2 separate regions of the Homo sapiens genome follow, and region 1 is linked to region 2. The links are contacts of gene promoters, found by promoter capture Hi-C in blood cells and fetal thymus (Javierre and others, 2016). All regions are on one chromosome and are shown on one strand. Each heading gives the region's core, a stretch centred on a gene start or on the middle of the fragment in contact. The rest is flanking DNA. Distances are from core to core; before and after follow the strand shown. Region 1 overlaps TRDN (triadin). Region 2 holds the start of CLVS2 (clavesin 2).

The links. The method cuts DNA at HindIII sites, captures the fragments that hold promoters and counts their contacts. A CHiCAGO score of 5 or more calls a contact.
Region 1: a fragment that was not itself captured here is called in contact with the fragment with the promoter of CLVS2 in region 2 in 1 of 17 cell types (endothelial precursors); the score reaches 6.1 in endothelial precursors.

The regions. Positions count from the first base shown.
Region 1 is chr6:123,303,083-123,306,932 of GRCh38, reverse strand. All of the region lies in intron 24 of TRDN (triadin), which reads left to right. Among named protein-coding and RNA genes, the nearest start is that of TRDN-AS1, 130 kb to the left of the region's middle. The HindIII fragment of the contact is 3,315 bases long and covers 927-3,850 here.
Region 2 is chr6:122,993,968-122,998,000 of GRCh38, reverse strand. CLVS2 (clavesin 2) reads right to left here and starts at 1,766. Exons shown (of 6, transcript NM_001010852.4): 1 at 1,255-1,766; 2 at 1-782. The coding sequence starts at 223. LOC124901392 (a long non-coding RNA gene) reads left to right here and starts at 3,081. Exons shown (of 2, transcript XR_007059733.1): 1 at 3,081-3,419; 2 at 3,515-4,033. The HindIII fragment of the contact is 3,468 bases long and covers 1-3,430 here.

The DNA of each region.
Region 1 (3,850 bases), core at 1,335-3,834, 310 kb before region 2:
CATAGCATATTGTTGGACACTAAATTTCTTTTTTTTTCTTTACCCCTTTATAAAAATGGTGGCAAACATGACATGCATTTGAAGTAAAAATAAAGATATAAAGACAATTTTCTAAATTTCATGTTTTATTTGGGAAGAAAGAATAGCAATTCATGACATACCTGCAGACTGGGTGGTCTTTGATTATGTCTAAAGAACAAAGACAAGATTAGAGGATTTATTAAGAAAGGATAGATTTTATGTATTGTTTTTCGAGAAAGTTTAGCCAGCTCCCATTGGTGAGTGACAGAGGTGGACAAAATTAGTCCTAGAGTTGCAGCAAGTTATCTCGGAAGCTATAGATAAAACTGGTTTCAGGTTACAACAAGCAATTCCAGCAGTCAAGTATGTGCAGAGAATTACATTCTTGGAGCCCTGTTTTGTGCCCTGAGTGTTTTCTCCCCCTGGCTTTTCTAGACTTTGTTTTAGTTGAGTATGACAAGAATGACCCAATTTAGATTATCAGCTTTCACATTTCCCCCCTTTTGATCAACATCCTTATCTGAAAGCATCACTAATCAATCATTTTACAGTTAGGCTTAATTATCCCTTCATGCCAAGATGAACCTGTCCTAGTTGTCTCTGTCCCATGTCTGGGGAAATGTTTGGGGTCATCAGAGACTTAGGCCACATTTAAGTAACAAATGGGCCAGAAAGAAAAATGTTCTCAGGGCAGATTTGGCTGGATCCCAGCATCAAATTCCATTTTATCTGTCCCTGGGCAGACATCAGCAATCATCTTGAGGTATTGAACTAATATTATCCTGTTGGAAGAGTTGGCTTTACAAAGATTAGACAGGCAATAGAAACAAAGCTTAAAAATTATCATACAAAAAACCGTCAGTAAACATATAATAAATCCAGTTTGAATAACTAGTTTGAAAGCTTAAACCTAATTCTGAAGGTAACCAACAAAACATATCTAAAAGTCTAGACATATTCTGCTGAGACTTGTTATAGCCACTGAGTAGTAGTTTATGACTGGGTTGAATTAAAGCAGAGAATACCAGCTTTACCAAAAGGATTACCAGTACAATTTGAACAAAAAGTTGTGATAGGGATATTGTCAGAGCTGCTCACAGTACAGATAAAAGGGATTTCTTAGGTCAAGATATGTCAAGTTACCAACAGAAGCTACTGACTGAAATTTTAATTATGCCATTATCCAGTCAATGAAAAAGGCAGCCTTGAGGGGTGTAAGAGTCTCATAATAATAAGGAATCTTGTTCCAACATCTCAAGGAAAGTTGTTTCATGTGGAAAACAGAAACTTTTTGTCCTAGTTTGTAGTTTGAATGTCTTTGGTCGTGGCATCAGGCGGTTTTGTGAACTTTCTGTGTTTCATATACCAGACATGAGAATTGTTCTTTAGAACTTGCCTAGCATTACCTTATAGGGCTTTAAGGACAGAGCAGTTCTCATTTTACCACTTTTATGGAAGAAAGTTGAATTGGAGGAACCTAAAACAATTTAAGACCTAGTCTAGCCTATAGATAGATAACAATAACTAAAAATGATATATAGAGTTACAATCTAATAACAGGTGTATTATAGCTTTTCTTTGTAAACATGTTTTTAATTGATCATATAGAAACCCTAGATTTAAAAAACTCTTGAAGCTAGGAAGCCAAACCAAGGCAGACTTTAGAATTTGCTTACTGTCTTAAGGTTCCTGGGCCTTCCAGGAAATGACAGTTTTTATTTACTTATTGTAAGAATGGGAACTCTTGAAGTCAGAAATTTTGGACATATTGTAAAATGTGACATTTTAATTGAAGCCTTGGCACCTTGGTAGTATAAGCAATGTTTTCAATTGTATTTTGCTGTAAAGAGAGAGCAGATTTTATTGGACTTTTGTAAATAACCATATTGCCATAAAAATATTTGCAAATAGTTTTTAAATTTTTGGAGAAATTAAATAAGAAGAAAAATGTTTTTATCTTTGTTTACACAACTATATTTTACCAAATTGCTTAAGAAAGACTTTTTTTGAAATCTGGAAAACAAAGCATTTAAGTAAAGGATCAATAATATTTTAAATAACAGTCATAAAAACATTATCTTTATCAGTTATTTAATGTTATATAATCAGCTTATTTTCAGCTTGATCTCTATTAGCAGTTTCATGGATCCATCAGTTTCTTTATGTACAATTTTATTTGGTCCATTGATTTAAAATTATCAGAAACCTGTGTTTAATGCTGTGCACCGAAAACACAGTTTTTTGTCAGACAATCTTCAAATAAACTAAATAAGTTAACACAAGAGAAAAAACATGTTTATAAAAAAAACTTGCATAAGTAATATGCAATCACTTATCTTACTTTTATATTAAGAAAATTAAGCCGGGCGCAGTGTCTCACGCCTTTAATCCCAGCACTTTGGGAGGCCGAGGCTGGCGGATCATGAGGTCAGGAGATCCAGACCATCCTGGCCAACATGGTGAAACTGCATCTGTACTAAAATACAAAAAAATTAGCCGGGCATGATGGAGCATGCCTGTAGTCCCAGCTACTTGGGAGGCTGAGGCAGGGGAATCCCTTGAACCAAGGAGGCGGAGGTTGCAGTGAGCTGAGATGGCGCCACTGCACTCCAGTCTGGCAACAGAGCAAGACTCCGTCTCAAAAAAAAAAAAAAAAAAAGAAAATAAAAGAAAATTAATATTCATATACAAAATTTTCACAGTTCTGTAACTGCATTTCTAACTGCTAATCAACTTCTTCTTTATATGGTTATTCTGTCTGCAAAACATTTTCCTTAAAATTGAACTCAACATCTCTTCCATTGTCCTTTTTTCTTTTGCTCTTATCTCATGGAAGTCATGACTTGCCATTCAGTTACATTGGCTTAAACTTCTGAGTCATTTACAACTCTTCTTTCTGTTTCAGAACCCAGCATCCAAGTAGGCACGAAGTTATGTGTCTCCCAAATTTATTCTCTCCATTTTTTTAATTCTTCTGGGTAAAACCTGTTTTTTTCTGATTCTTATTATCTCTTCCCTGAATAAATATACAAAATCATTAACTTATTATCTTGTTTACATTTTCTCTTTAAAGATCTACCACAAGCCTATGCTACTTATCTTTACAAAATGGACATCTGTAGGGAACAGTGCTAGGTTACTGTCATTCATTGTCATACTGCCCTCAACATATTTATTTCCATAGTTTCTACTTGTTTAATCCACCACAACCATCACCAGAAGCCCACACAGACATTTAAAAACCATTACCAGTTCTGTGAATTTTTCTCTTCTCAATGTCTTTTGAATCTTCCCCTTTCACTCAGTCCCTCACTGAAAACATCCTATTTATTCATCTAACCTCGAATTTCATCAACAAACTATCCCACCTGCCCATGACTTTCTAGCGGTAAACATGTCTTTATCCTTGGTCTGTTTGCACATGTTTTCTTCTAATGTATCATGTGGTATTCATGTCGTTTGTTGCATAGATTTATTCTAACCTTGTGTCTTAGCTCCTATATTATCTGTTCTGTGAGTTATGTCTTTAATATCTAAGGCAGAAAAAAATATTTCAAAAGCCACTATAGCCACAGTAGGTCCAACAACATTATCTTTATGGAAAGGAAATCATTGGTTAATAATTTTTTTAAAATCTGTTTTTGACATGTTTCTTGACTTTATGATATATACCACATGCACAGGCAGTTTTCTGTGTGTAAAAGGCCAATGAAGACAGAAAGATGTAGAGGAAGGAGCTCTGGGACAATTGATATGGAGTGGTTTACATCATCATTTAACTTCTAAGTGATTTGACATCATGATTTAACTTCTAAGTCTCAGCTTCTTT
Region 2 (4,033 bases), core at 517-3,016:
ACTGCGCCAGGAGGCGGAAGGCCTCAAAGTGATGAAACTTCCTAGCCCGCAAGAAGCGTAAGATGAAGGCATCATCCGTGCGCAGAAAGCCAATGTCCGGCCTGGTGATGACCATATCCCTCACCTCCTGGATGTCCTGGTGCAGCGTGTCTGGGTTTTCATTGAGCTCCAGGCGAGCTTTCTCCAGGGTCTCAGGGGAGAGACCGGCTTGCAAATGAGTCATTGTTCTGCCTATCTCTGAGCTTTCCCTCAGAAGACCTTGTTGACTGTCCCAAAGCAAACCTGGTCCTTGCCACCACCAGACTCCAGCCCCCAGACCTCCTGCTGCCTGCTTCCTCTCCCCTACAGGAAATTAATAATCTTGGTGTCCAATCAAGTGCCCTGTTGCTCCTGCTTTCCCCCAGCAAAGCTGGGGGGGCCGGGGGGTGTAAACTTCTTCCTCTGCCCCCTAAAATACAACACCCTACTTTGGCTCCCTCTTTCCTTTCCTTTAAAGAGATGTGAACCCCTGAAGGGCTCCGCACTCCTCTTCTTGTCCTTTCTCTTTCCTAACAAATCACCCCTAATTCCACCTAGCACGGGTGTTTCTGATCTTGGTACTGTCCTCTTCTCTTCTCTTCCAAGATGTAACAAAAACAACCCCCACGCACATCTCAGCCCCTGCACTGTGAATGTTCCTGCGGTCCCTGCTGAAGGATACGCCTGCCAGGGGTGGCGATGGAAATTCTGATTAATAATAAGGTAGCTCTTCAGCGCTGAGCTCCAGGGCGGAGAGAGATCATCTTTGCCAGAAAGAAAAAGAGACAGAGAGAAAGAGGGGGGAGAAAGGAGATTATTTCTCCCTGTACTTATTCAAAGACGCTATTTTTAAAAGACAAATTTGTGTGATTTATTTAAGATTATTGTGATCCAATTAGGTGAAGACTCTGCAGATAGCGCACCTTCCCACCACCCCTCTGAGATACACCGTGATCTCATAAGGCACCAGCAGGGGTTCTGGTGGCGTTGGTACCAGCGTGGGCTCCCCCAACCCCACCCCCAACTTCTGCCTTCCTCTAGCCCTTCATTTCCACGGACTTGCCGCGGGGTTGGAGAAAAGGGGGGAGGGGGAGGGAGGGGACCGGGGATATCTCTGGGAATGCACATTTCAAAAACGAAGAGAAGGGGAGGACGTTGTGAAGAATAAAATAAAAATGTCCTTATCTTTTCTATAAAACCCCAAAGCAAGAAAGAAGAAAGAGCAGCCGCTCCTACCAGCAAACCCAGAGGCGGGGTCGCTAAGCAATGCGGCACTCCCTGGCATCCATCAGCCGCGGCTTCAGCAGCGGCGGCGGCGGCGACAGCGGCATCAACTCCTCTGGGCGGGATGGAAGGAGCAGAGAAGAGGGGTGGCGGCGGGGACCCGGGCCGAAGATGCGCTCGGGAGCAGCCGCGGCCACATCGTCCGCGGGCAGCCCGCAGCCTCTCCTAGCAGGAGGGGTGAGGATCGCAGGGCTAGGGCCACCGCTGTCCCAGGTTCTCGCCTGGCCCTGCCATTTTCGCCTTCGGGAGAGAAGGTGGGGAGGAGGACGCGAACGCCTGGATGGAGAAGGCCACTCGGGCGGCCACCGCCTTTGTGAGCCCTCCGGGAGCAGCCGGGGAGGTGGGCGCAGCGGGGCGGCTGCTGCGCGGCGCTGGCCTCTCCTGGGGCTCTCCCGAGCGGTCCGAGTCAGGGTTGCCCCACCGGGCTGCGGCGGCGGCTCCGGCTGCTGCTGCTGAAAGAGGACTCGGCTCAGCCCAACTCCTCTCTAATTATCCCAGCACAGATCTCGCTGCGACGTAAGCACTCACTCAGCTCGCGCGCGCGCTCCGCTCCTTTCCCTGCCTCGTTGGGGTAGGACGGCAATTTGGGTGGCATCGAAATATCCCGAGCCCTAAGTTTAGGCTGCTCTTCGTCCCCACTCCTCAGCAGGCTGCTGAGCGGGCGTCGCCGGGCCAGGCGGGGCAACCATGCTTTCCAGCCTCCCCACGCCCCTCTCTTCGCCCTTTGTGTGCAAGACCCCAGATCAGCCTGGAGAGTAGCTGTTGTAGACGGTAATTCACATTGACACGCATTTTCTCGTTCCTGTAGGAGGCAATTTTGATGTAGAAGGAGTACGGAAACATTCTGTACTTTTCGCATTTGTTGTAGACAGAGATATTTAATTTAGAAAACACCAGAGTGGTTCCAAGACAATGTACTGATGATTAAGCCTCCGGAGGAACTTATATGAATAGTTTTTCAACCAGTCTCCCTGCTAAATTTCTGTTGAAGAGGATGAAAATGAGCACTAGGGTAAATGATAATAAAAACATAATTCTCAAAGGAAGAAAAAAATAGGAACTTCACTCATATCTCATCATAAAGCAAATATTTCTGGAAACACATACCATCCTTCCTTCAGTTGTATGCATCTGTATATGAGAATCATTATAAATAAACAGAAGTCCTTGCGCTTAATATGACTATCTATGGATTTGAGGAAAAGGGATATTTTCTATTTTCAAAACACAGCACATATTACTGAGCGTGTTACTAAGAGCAACTTTTGACTTTATAAACTGTAGAATGGGGTCTTGAATTGAAGTTAATTCAATGCAACTAATATTTACTGAGTTCCACGAGGTGTGGGGCATTTTTCTGCATTCTGTGTATAGGAGGTGGTCTTGAAGATAAGCAAATTTTGTCATTTTCTTATCTTGACATTTCTTATCTTGTCATTTTCAATGTTGATGACTATGAGAACCCTCAAAATACAGGCACACTTGTTTTTGCTCTTCTCATGGCGATGGTGTTGATAAAAAGAAAGAAGGAAAAGGGTTGTATGGTAGAGCTAGAGCATTTATTAATTAAATTAATGCAAATTAATGTAGGAACCCGAATAAGACAATAAATTACACACACACACACACACACACACACAGTCATTATTGTCAAGGAATTTATGTTTTAAATGGGGAAGGCAGAAAATAAACCACTTAAGTGTGTGTATATGTGTGTTATATATATGCACTATATATAAGGTCCTTCTAGGATTTTAAGTGATTATGACTTTCTCAAGCATGCTGAATGCAATGTGAACTGTTAAATTTTTGGTTCTCATTTTAAAACATTTGAAAAAATCATTTTTTCTAATATTTTAGAGGTTGAAGAAAATTTATGTTTCGTATCAACTGTATGAAGAAGTTTTAGTCATCACCAACATGGAGAGACAATTCTCCCTGGATCCGTTGTGTTTCTACCTGTCTTATGACCAAGGCACTAATTGCCCTTTTTTCTAGACTGTCTTCTCAAGGGTATTTGTACAGTAAATAGTCTTGGAAGATATTGGAAGATAGAGATAGTACCTCCATCTGAAACAAAGCCTTGAAAGCTGTGATATCTCTCTCCTGACCAAAAGGTAGGCAAGCTTATTTGAATTCCCTAAACTCAGAGCTATTCTGCTGTAATGCCACCCATTGTTTATGCCAGTATCACTTGATCCTCTTTTCTTAGCTATCTGTGGGAATTAGAGCTCAGGGGACCAGTCAATGCAAGATATGCAGATGCTCATACTGCCCGCTATGCCTGAGTGACAAAATCCTTTATCTCGAAGCCAAGAGTTTTGCATCTTCCATCGGCATCCATGAAACTACAGCCAGCTAACTTGTTAGCCTGTAAGTGAAGTTAAAATTCAGATCTTTCACCTTGATGAAAAAACAGTTGTTTAATTTTGTTCTCTGAGATGGACATATTAGACTATATTTTTAAGGGAATTTATAAAATAAAATGTATTTTTTGGCCCAGCATATGTTATGACCAGTATTGAAGGTTGAAGGATGACATTTTTATTATTTATTATTTACCAATAACAGAATTGCTTCAAATAGATTTATTTTAACATATCTACATATGATAGAAATAGTCTCTATCACCCAGTAGGATTGTTGGAGCAGGTCAGTTAGGTATATATAAGATTTTTAAATCATATTTACAAAACTTTAGTGATTATACTGTTATTCTCTCTCTACTTAT